Regions from separate parts of the Homo sapiens genome. Here regions 1 and 3 are each linked to region 2. The links are contacts of gene promoters, found by promoter capture Hi-C in blood cells and fetal thymus (Javierre and others, 2016). All regions are on one chromosome and are shown on one strand. Each heading gives the region's core, a stretch centred on a gene start or on the middle of the fragment in contact. The rest is flanking DNA. Distances are from core to core; before and after follow the strand shown. Region 1 overlaps LOC107984419 (a long non-coding RNA gene). Region 2 holds the start of FSHB (follicle stimulating hormone subunit beta). Region 3 overlaps LINC02755 (long intergenic non-protein coding RNA 2755).

Region 1 (3,079 bases), core at 22-2,521, 610 kb before region 2:
TAAGTAAGAAAGTGCTCAAAGAATACTAGGGACATGTCAAAAGGACATAGAAGCCAGTGTGAAGGGGCTCCTACTGAGCAAATCTCAGTGATGCTGATGCCCAATAGCTGCTTTCCCCAGGTCAACTGGTTTCCGTCTAAGTTCCGTCAATGGGAGGCTGAGTTTGGACTATCAGTGGAAGACCGTGCCCAGGGGTTTCCTCTCTTTCAGGGAGTCTCCAGCTCCAGAGGTCTTTCCTGCATTGTTACAGCTTCTCTGTGGTTCTAGGTAATGTGGGTGACCATGACTCCTGGGCTCTACTATCACTTTCTCTCACCTTTGTTTCCCCACCCGCTTCATGGTAGCAACTTCTTGCTGTTGCTCATCTTTACATTGCTTCACCATCCCCGTTGAGTTTCTCTGAATGCCTATCATTTGTGTATCCCATTTCCTGAATTAAATTCTCTATGTTTAGATATTTAAGGAGGTTTCTGTTTTTCTAATTCGACCCCTACTGATGCTCTAGACAAATATTGGCAAAAAGAAAGATGGTATAATTATGTTAACATTAGACAGCACGGACTTTCAGACAAAAAACATGCATGAGATAAACATATAACATAATACAATCATGCAATATAAGAAAATATAACAAAATTCTAAATAGTATGTACCTAATAATCTACCAAGTTATATGCAGCAAATACTAATAAAACTGCAAAGAAAACAGACAAATCACTATTAAAATGGGATATATTTAGCACATTTCTCTCAGTAAGTGATAGCTCATGCTCTCCAGGAATAAGAATATAGATTTCTAAAATACAATTAAGAAACTTTATGTAGTAGACATACAAAGGCCATCACACCAATAACAAGAGAATACATATTTTGTTCAAGCACACATGGATCCCAGATCACATTTTACGCAATAAAAGAGGGCTTACTAAATTTCAAAGGGTATCATACAGCCCACATTCCTAACAATAACACAATATGTTAGAAATCAATAACAAAGAGGCATTTAAAATAATCTCATACATTTGGGAGAAAAAAAAACCTCCTGAGTAAAGAGGAAATCCAATAGAAATTTTAAAATACTTGTATCTGAAAAATAATAGAAAAAATAAAGTAGTATTTTAGGAAAATTTAATGCCTTATAAATTTCTATATAAAAAAAGGAAGGATTAAAATTAAGAATGTTGGACCATCCTGGCCAACATGGTGAAATCCCGCCTCTGCTAAAAATACAAAAAAAAAAGCCGGGCGTGGTGGTGGGTGTCTGTAATCCCAGCTCCTCGGGAGGCTGAGGCAGGAGAATGGAGTGAACCCAGGAGGCGGAGCTTGCAGTGAGCTGAGATCCCGCCACTGCACTCCAGGGTGGGCGATAGAGCGAGACTCTGTCTCAAAAAAAAAAAAAAAAAAGAATTTTAAATAGGAACAACAGTCTAAACCCAACAAAAGTAGAGGACAGAAAATGTCAAAAACAGAAGCAGATATTAATAAAAAATAAAAAAAGGGTAAATTCAGCTGCATTAAAATTAAGAAATTTTGTTCACTAAAAAGCATAATAGAATGAAAAAAGGACATATACTGGAAATAGCATTTATAACATATATTAGCAACAAAGGAACAATATTCAGAACATAAATAATTCCTACCCATCAATAAAACAAACAACCCTACCAAAAATGACAAAATAAATAAATAAGTACTTTACAGAGGAAGAAACTTGCACTGGCATAAACATGAGAAGATGCTCTACTTTATTAATAATAGACTAAATCCCAAACATGTTTTTTTGTTGTTGACAACCACAAGAATGACAAATTTTCACACATGACAATCCCAAACATTGGTGAGGAGGTGCAGTAAAGAGGATTTATGCACTGTTGTTGGGAATGTAAATTGAAACAATTTTTGTGAATAACCCAGTACATTTGGATATGCATATGCCATACAACCAATCAATTCATTTTCTAGGCATTCCCTAAATTAACTGATGCACATATGCACCAGTAGCTGTGTACAAGAATGTCCATGCAACATTTTCGTAAATATACTTTATTTTTAGAGCAGTTTTATGTTGAGAGCAAAACTGAGCAGAAGGTATGGAGTTTTCATATACTCCCTGATCCCACACAGGCACAGCTTTTCCACTGTTAATGTCCTGCACCCCAGGGGAACATTTGTTATCATCAATAAACCTACATTGACACATCATTGTCACCCAAAGTCCATGGTTTACATTAGGGTTCACTCTTGATGTTGTACATTCTCTGCATTTTGAGAAATCTGTAATGGTATGTATCCACCATTTTAATATCATATAGAGTAGCTTCACTGCCTGAAAAATCCTCTGTGCTCTCCCTATTGATCCATCCTCCCCTCAAACACACATCAGCCACTGATCTCTTTACTGTCTTCATAGTTTTGCCTTTTCCAGAATTACATATAGTTAAAATCATACCATATGTAGCCTTTCCAGATGGCGTCTTTCACTTACATATGCATATGAGCTTCTTCTATGTCTTTTCATGGCTTGATGGCTCATTCCTTTTCAGTGCTGAATAATATTCATTGTCCGGATGTGCCACAGTTTACTTATCCATTCACCTACTGAAGGACATCTTGGTTGCTTTCAAGTTTTGGCAATTGTGAATAAAGCCACTATAAACATCCTAGTGCTGGTTTTTCTATGAACATAAGTTTTCAACTCATTTGGGTAAATACCAAACAGCATGACTATTGGATCAGATGATAAGAATATCTTAGTTTTGTAAGAAACTGCAAAATCATCTTCCATATGCCTGTATCATTTTGTATTCCCACCAGCAATAAATGAGGGTTCCTGTTGCTTCACATTCTTGCCAGCATTTGGTGTTGTCAATACTCTAGATTTTGGCCATTCTAATAGGTGTGTAGTGGAATTGCATTGTTGTTTTCATTCTCAATTCCCTAATGCCATATGATATTGAACATCTTTTCATATGCTTCTTGGTTACCTGTGTATCTTCTTTGGTGAGATATCTGTTCATGTATTTTGCCCATTTATAACATCAAGTCGTTCATTATCTTTTGATTTTATGGGTTCTTTGTA
Region 2 (3,408 bases), core at 365-2,864:
TGCTATAACGAAGGGAGTGGGTTTGCTGATTCATTTTTGTTCTAACAGTCTGCAAGAATTGATTGTGTTCTCAGGCTGTTTTTTGGCATTTGTATTTAGTAGGGCCAGGAAGACAATTTTTTTAAGTGGCTGTCTATGTTTTTATGTGACTTGGAGACATATTTTGGTGTGATTTTGTGTCAAAGATGTAGTGTCAGTTAAAGAAATTGCCTTTATGAGAATATTATAGGTCCTTTATGATTAAATATATGTATGTTTCCATGTTTATCTCTCTATGTGTAAAAACGTAACATAGAAATACTTTTTCCCTGTAGATGCAAAGTTGGACTAGTACCAAATTGATCAGATTAAATCTGAGGCTTTCCTAAATTTACCCAAATCAAATCCAAGCCCAAACATCTAAGTGATATCGTGGTCATTAACCCCAATCACAACACAGACAGTCTTGGCTAAAGGACTCATGGCTGTTACTTAGAATACATAAAATATTGATAAAGTAGAAACTAATGAAACCGGCCTAATACAGACCTTCAACACCCTTGCTTCCAGCAAAACATGGTACCTACCCTGGTGTAGCAGTAGCCAGCACACCAAGTGGTGTTGATGCTTATGCAGAAACGACATTCTTCTTTCTCTATTGCAATGGTGATGTTGGTCAGCTCACAGCTATTGCAGCAGATTGCTTTCCAGCAACAGAAAAGGAAGAAAAACTGGAGTGTCTTCATCCTGGTCTGGGAAGCAAACAATGAAGCCCACTAGAAACTGAGAAACCAAAGAACGATAATCATTATGTAAGCTGACCAAACCAAAAATAATTGGTCTGCTCATCCTCCTCAATCACATTTTGCTTCAAAAGTTTTTTTTCCTTCCTTATGCCTTTTTACTTACATCTTTGTTTCTTGGAACAACATTTTTCCTTGTCCTTCTTCAATTTTTGGGTCAGGGTGGGAATATATTATAGATCAAAACTCCAATATAATGATTTAAGCAGAGGAATATTTAAAGATTAGAATCTTATTGCTGACTGTCATAAAGTAATTACTCTGATAATTGTGATCATCATATTTGTTCTTCCATTATTATTTTAAAGTCTATTTTTGTCTGAAAAGAAAAATAAAATTCTTTTCTTTTCTTGAGACAGGGTCTTGCTCTGTTGCCCAGGCTGGAGTGCAGTGGTATAATCATGAATCACTGCATCTTCAACCTTCCAGGCTCAAGCAATCCTCTGACCTTGGCCTCCCAAAGTGCTGGGATTACAAGCATGAGCCACCATTCCTGGCCAAGAAAATTCTATACTACAAAATTATGTCTTCATTTTTAGAATCTCATAAATATTTTCTTTTGCTCACATTTGTTTAAAATAAGACCATTTCAGAAGAGAGGCATATTGGTCTATAAAGTCAGTTACTTGCTAACAGTGATTACGTTATATTAACCATATTTTACAAGCCAGGTTGACAAGCATAAATTTCCTACACAACAGTAGTGAGAAGCTCTAGTTTTGTCCTCCATGTCCTGACAAATCTGTAATTTCAAAAGTAGCTGTCACCACTTGAAAACGGTAGATGCCAAGACTCACCTGTGGTCGGCTGCCTTGCCTGGCAAGAGCTGTAGACTGAATGAAATCTCAGTTCACCTTTTATACAAAATCATGTGCAACTAACACCTTGTGGATTTGTTGGGTATTAATATGACCAATGCTAGCCTGAAGCTTGCTGTAAGTGAATCAGTGTTTAGATAGACAGGGAGATCAAGCTTTACTAAAGTAGTCTAAACGCAGTAGATTAGAAAAAATAATGTTACTAGAGATGATGATTTTGTACAAATTAAATTTGATACAGTAGCACACCCACTCCTTTACCTTCTCAAATTAATTGTGACTCCAGATTTTTCTTTTGTATCTTTAAATCAGGAAATTCAGAGTCCTTTCCAAGTATTGCTTTGACTCTGTTCAGGAGATGCATTAAAAAATATGGTTAATAAATTGCTCCAAGAGCATATCAAAAGCTGTGAAGGAAGAAACAAACAAAGAGAAAACATTTCATGATCTGGCTCCTGTCTAAAGTGTGAACTGTATCTCTCTTTCCCTCCCACATTCTGGCCCCCTAATCACAAATCTTTATTTTTTGATGTTTTAGCAAGAACTTTCTACTTTACTTGTAATTCCATAAATATGTTGCTGATTCATATCTTTAGATCTTTGCATGTAATGTTCTTCCTGCCTGAAATGTCCTTGCTTCCTCCCTGCCTCCTCCAACACCACCCTGAACCCTGGCAAATTCCTCAACCTTCAACATCCAGGGGAGTTTCACCTGTCAAAGTTTAGGATGGGAGGTGAGGGAGAACCATAATCACTACCTTCTGTGTGTAACCATTTATAGGCTCTTGTTTCCTCCAATAAACTATGATCTCTTTGGAGACTAGGATTGCTTTGTTTAATAAATATTTACTAATCAAACAGTGTGACTGGAGCAAAAGGACAACAGCAGTAATATTAGAATATGATGTCAGAGAGATAACAGGAGTCAAATGTTGGAACTTGTAGACCAGTGTAAGGGCTCTGGTTTGTACTCTTTGTGTAATGGGACCCATTGAAGGATTTTAAGTAGAGGAGTGACGTGACATGATCTGATTGAGTTCTAAAAGGACTCCTCTGACTGCTGTGTTGCTAATATAGGGGAACCAAGAAACAGGAAGACCCGTTAGGATGCTATCAATAACCCAGGTGAGAAATGATGTTTGTTCAATAACCCAGGTGAGAAATGATGTTTGTTCAGACTAGTATGGTAGCTATTGGAGGTAATGAGACATGCTCTGACTCTGTATGCATTTTGAAAGTAGAACCAACAAAATTTTCTGATGGATAGATGTTGAGTGTGAGAGGAGGAAAAGGGTCAAGGATGGCTCTAAAGATTCTGGTTTGAGTAGCTGGAAGGATAAACTTGCTATCAGCTGAAAGGGGATGGCTGTAAATGTCGAAGTTTGGGAAAAGGAAATGGAGTTCAGTATGCACATGTTGAGCTTGAGTTGTTTGTACTACATCCAGGAGATAATGAAGTTTCTTTTTCCTCTTTCCAAAGGAGACTGAGGAGGGCCATTGAGGAAAGTAGGAATGGGGAGAATATGGTGTCCCAAAAGCCAAATAAAGAGAGCATCTCAGGGAGGAGCCAGTGACACCTGTGTCAGATACTGCTGACAGGTTAAGTAAGATGAGGATCAAGAACTTCACAATGCATATGCGATGTAAAGTTCGCTACTGTCCTTGGCTGTAAAAGTTACTTTGGAATGATGAAAACAAAAACCTGATTGGTATGTGTTTAAGTGATTTGGAGGAGATAAGTCATAGTGAATATAGACAATTTTTCCAAGAGCTTTTTTTTACAAAGATCAATAAAGAAATGGGTATTT
Region 3 (3,149 bases), core at 644-3,143, 810 kb after region 2:
CACCGGCTTCCTGGGCAGCCTGCAAAACCATGAGCAAATTAAACCTCTTTTCTTTATAAATTACCCAGCCTGAGGTATTTCTTTATAGCAATGCAAAAATGGCCTAAAACACAGTACAATTTTGTTACATGGGTGTTTTGCATGCTGCTGAAGTCTGGGCTGTTAGTGTTCCTATCACCCAAATAGTGTGCATTGTACCTGATAGGGAGTATTTCAGACCTCACTCCCTCCTGTCTGTATGTCCATGTGTACCCATTATTTAGCTGCTTTTTATAAGTGAGAACATGCAAGTTTTGACTTTCTGTATATGAGTAATTTCATTTAGAATAAGAGCCTCTAGTTCCATCCATTTGGAGAGAGGGGAACTTTTTTTTAATGAATTACAGTTATGCATCACTTACGGATGGACATGTATTCTAAGAGATGCATTATTAGGTGTTTTCATCATTGTACAAACCTCAGAGTGTACTTATACAAATCTAGATGGCATAGGCTACTACACACCTAGGCTATATAATATAGCCTATTGCTCCTGGGCTACAAACCTGTACAGCAGGTTACTGTACTGAATGTTGTAGGCAATTGCAACACAATGGTAAGTATTTGGGCATCTAAACAAATCTAAAATATGGAAAAAGTACAGTAAACATTAGGTAGTATGGTCTTATGAGACCACTGGTGTATATGGCCTGTCATTGAACAAAATGTCGTTATGCAGTACATGAATGTACTTAAATAGATGAAAGGGTGTTATATGGTGGAAATTTGGAGAATTGGCTTTAAATAGGAGCATGCATAATCTATGTGTATACATAGGAAAAAAGGGCAAGTGTATAAACACAAATGCTAGTATGTCAGTAGTTTCAGTAGTGGAAGTTTGTAGAAATTCTTCTCAAGTACTTCAATTTCCTTAATGAAGTAGAAACTCAAATGAGAATGGGGTTTGAAGAGAAAAAGGAATGCATAAAATAATCTTCTTACAAGTAAGTAAATGAGTGGACTGAAGAAATGTAGTTTTACTGTCAAGCAATAAAGGTTGGGCTTGAAATTTGTGGTAATGATTTTAACCTGAGTGGTCATACACATTTATCCAGCCACATCTAGCTATACTGATGCAGTTCTGAGTAGGTAAGGAATTGCATTTACCCAGGACTGTGATTTTAACAACAGAATAGAATGAACCTAGAGATAGAATCAAGGAGGTTGAAACAAATGCAAAGCAGTGTTTCAATTGGCTGACTATGAAATTCAATCTGTGGTAAAGATAAAATGAAGACACTAGGAGAGTGAGAAAAAGATGGGAGCATCAATGGAACTTACAAAGGAGGCTTTGTGAATATTTTGCCTCCCTTGATTTAACTGAAAACAAGGGAACTTTAAATTAATAGGAGGGTCTGATTTAAGAGCTCTAAATTGACACAGTATCTCAACATTAAAGATATTTTTAATCTATTAGAAACTAAGAGAGTTTTATTGTTTATATAGTCAGACAAAATGAAAACAAGACAAAAAGTAAGTAAATATAATAACATTTTATGTCATGTTTAGCTATTCAGAGTACTGGTCTCTGTAATCCTATTTTATTTTCCCAATGTCTTATCTCTGTATTGTAAAACTAAAGCTTAAAAGACTGGTGTCATTTAGGTTCCAGTAAGTTCTAGACATTCTCTAATCTGAATACTAAAATGGTGTAGACAGAGGGAATATGGCAAGACTCAATCCTGATTTCTTGTTTCTAAAGTGATCTTTGGAAACAAAATGTCCTTTGTGTGACTTTGAAAATTATCTTCATTCTTTCTCTGCCCTATTGTCGAAAGACATTTGAAGAACATTTTTAATGCCCATCTTCTGGGGGTTGTGTTGGTTCATCAGAAACCAACTTTTCCACCTACCTGTTTAATTCATTATATATGGTATTTATCCTGCTTTACATGGGAATTCTCAGACAAAAGTGGCTTAAAATAATTTTAAGTTGCTTTGAACTGTCAATCTAACTCTATTACTAATGGAAATGAAGAAAAGCCACAAAAGCAAGTATTTTGGAACATTTTTCAGCCAAAGCTGGTTAGCAATGAGAAACAATAATCTAAAAAAATACATAATTAAATAGAATAAGAAAATTACTAGAGTAGAGAACAAACTACTCGAATAGAATAGAAGCTTTAAAAACCAATCTTATTAGGACTTGTGTTTAGCTTTGTAAGTAAAAATGTGCTTAAGGCAAAAAAAAATTTAAAACAATGTATATGTATCTTTAGAATTTTACTTAAATATAAAGCATACAAATATGCATTTATTTGCCAGTCTTTTGCTGTAAAGCTAAAGTCTTTTATTTGAGTATGAGTCCACTGATTGCAGTGTCAATCATTTTTTCTAGTTTCAATTTTTTGTGAAGGATGTGAGAATGTTTTTTAATTGTGAAAAAATCTCTGAAGAAGTCTAAATTTTTACTATTATCTTTACTCTGCATTTTAGATTTCTTCCTTAAGACTAAATCAGTATCAACTTATTTTTTGCCAATAACTTTTATCAAGATGTCCTACTTAATTAGTGTAAAATAATATCCCTTAAAAATTTGCACATTTATTTCATGGTGTTTAAAAAGTACTATTTAATTAATTTAATTACATAATTAGAGCACTTACTATTGACCTAAACAGATAAAAAATGTGAATTTTTTAAATACACAGCTGGAGGTAGTTGAAGCAAGTAGCTTAAAAGAAGTCATTCATCACATTTTTACAGCAAACTGAGGGCATTGTTCGTAATGTTTTCCAGAAGGAATTAAGCATATTGGTTAATCCACAAGGCAGATGAAGTGCTTATAGTTTAAAATGGCTTCTGCTATTTTTGTACCCTTTGATATTTGTAAGGAAATTACATTAGAAAACTCAAGTTTCTGAAAATACCTATAGCAAAGACACCTGCTTGATAATTTTTTTTGTTTTTTTTTCCACTACTCAATCCCTACACTTTTTTTTTAAATTATTATTATTATACTTCAAGTTTTAGGGTACATGTGCACAATGTGCAGGTTAGTTACATACGTATACATGTGCCATGCTGCTGCGCTGCACCCACTAACTCGTCATCTAGCATTAGGTATATCTCCCAATGCTATTCCTCCCCGCTCCCCCCACCCCACAACA

What was found. The method cuts DNA at HindIII sites, captures the fragments that hold promoters and counts their contacts. A CHiCAGO score of 5 or more calls a contact.
Region 1: a contact is called between a fragment that was not itself captured here and the fragment with the promoter of FSHB in region 2, in 1 of 17 cell types (M0 macrophages). The highest score is 5.3, in M0 macrophages.
Region 3: a fragment that was not itself captured here is called in contact with the fragment with the promoter of FSHB in region 2 in 1 of 17 cell types (endothelial precursors); the score reaches 7.9 in endothelial precursors.

Annotation. Positions count from the first base shown.
Region 1 is chr11:30,836,344-30,839,422 of GRCh38, reverse strand. The region is part of intron 3 of LOC107984419 (a long non-coding RNA gene); the gene reads left to right. Among named protein-coding and RNA genes, the nearest start is that of LINC02859, 100 kb to the right of the region's middle. The HindIII fragment of the contact is 3,827 bases long and covers 1-3,079 here.
Region 2 is chr11:30,229,220-30,232,627 of GRCh38, reverse strand. It overlaps FSHB (follicle stimulating hormone subunit beta), which reads right to left and starts at 1,614. Exons shown (of 3, transcript NM_001382289.1): 1 at 1,580-1,614; 2 at 567-762. The coding sequence starts at 725. All of the region lies in intron 1 of ARL14EP-DT (ARL14EP divergent transcript), which reads left to right. The HindIII fragment of the contact is 8,364 bases long and covers 1-1,713 here.
Region 3 is chr11:29,421,465-29,424,613 of GRCh38, reverse strand. The region is part of intron 2 of LINC02755 (long intergenic non-protein coding RNA 2755); the gene reads left to right. Among named protein-coding and RNA genes, the nearest start is that of LINC02755, 170 kb to the left of the region's middle. The HindIII fragment of the contact is 539 bases long and covers 1,624-2,162 here.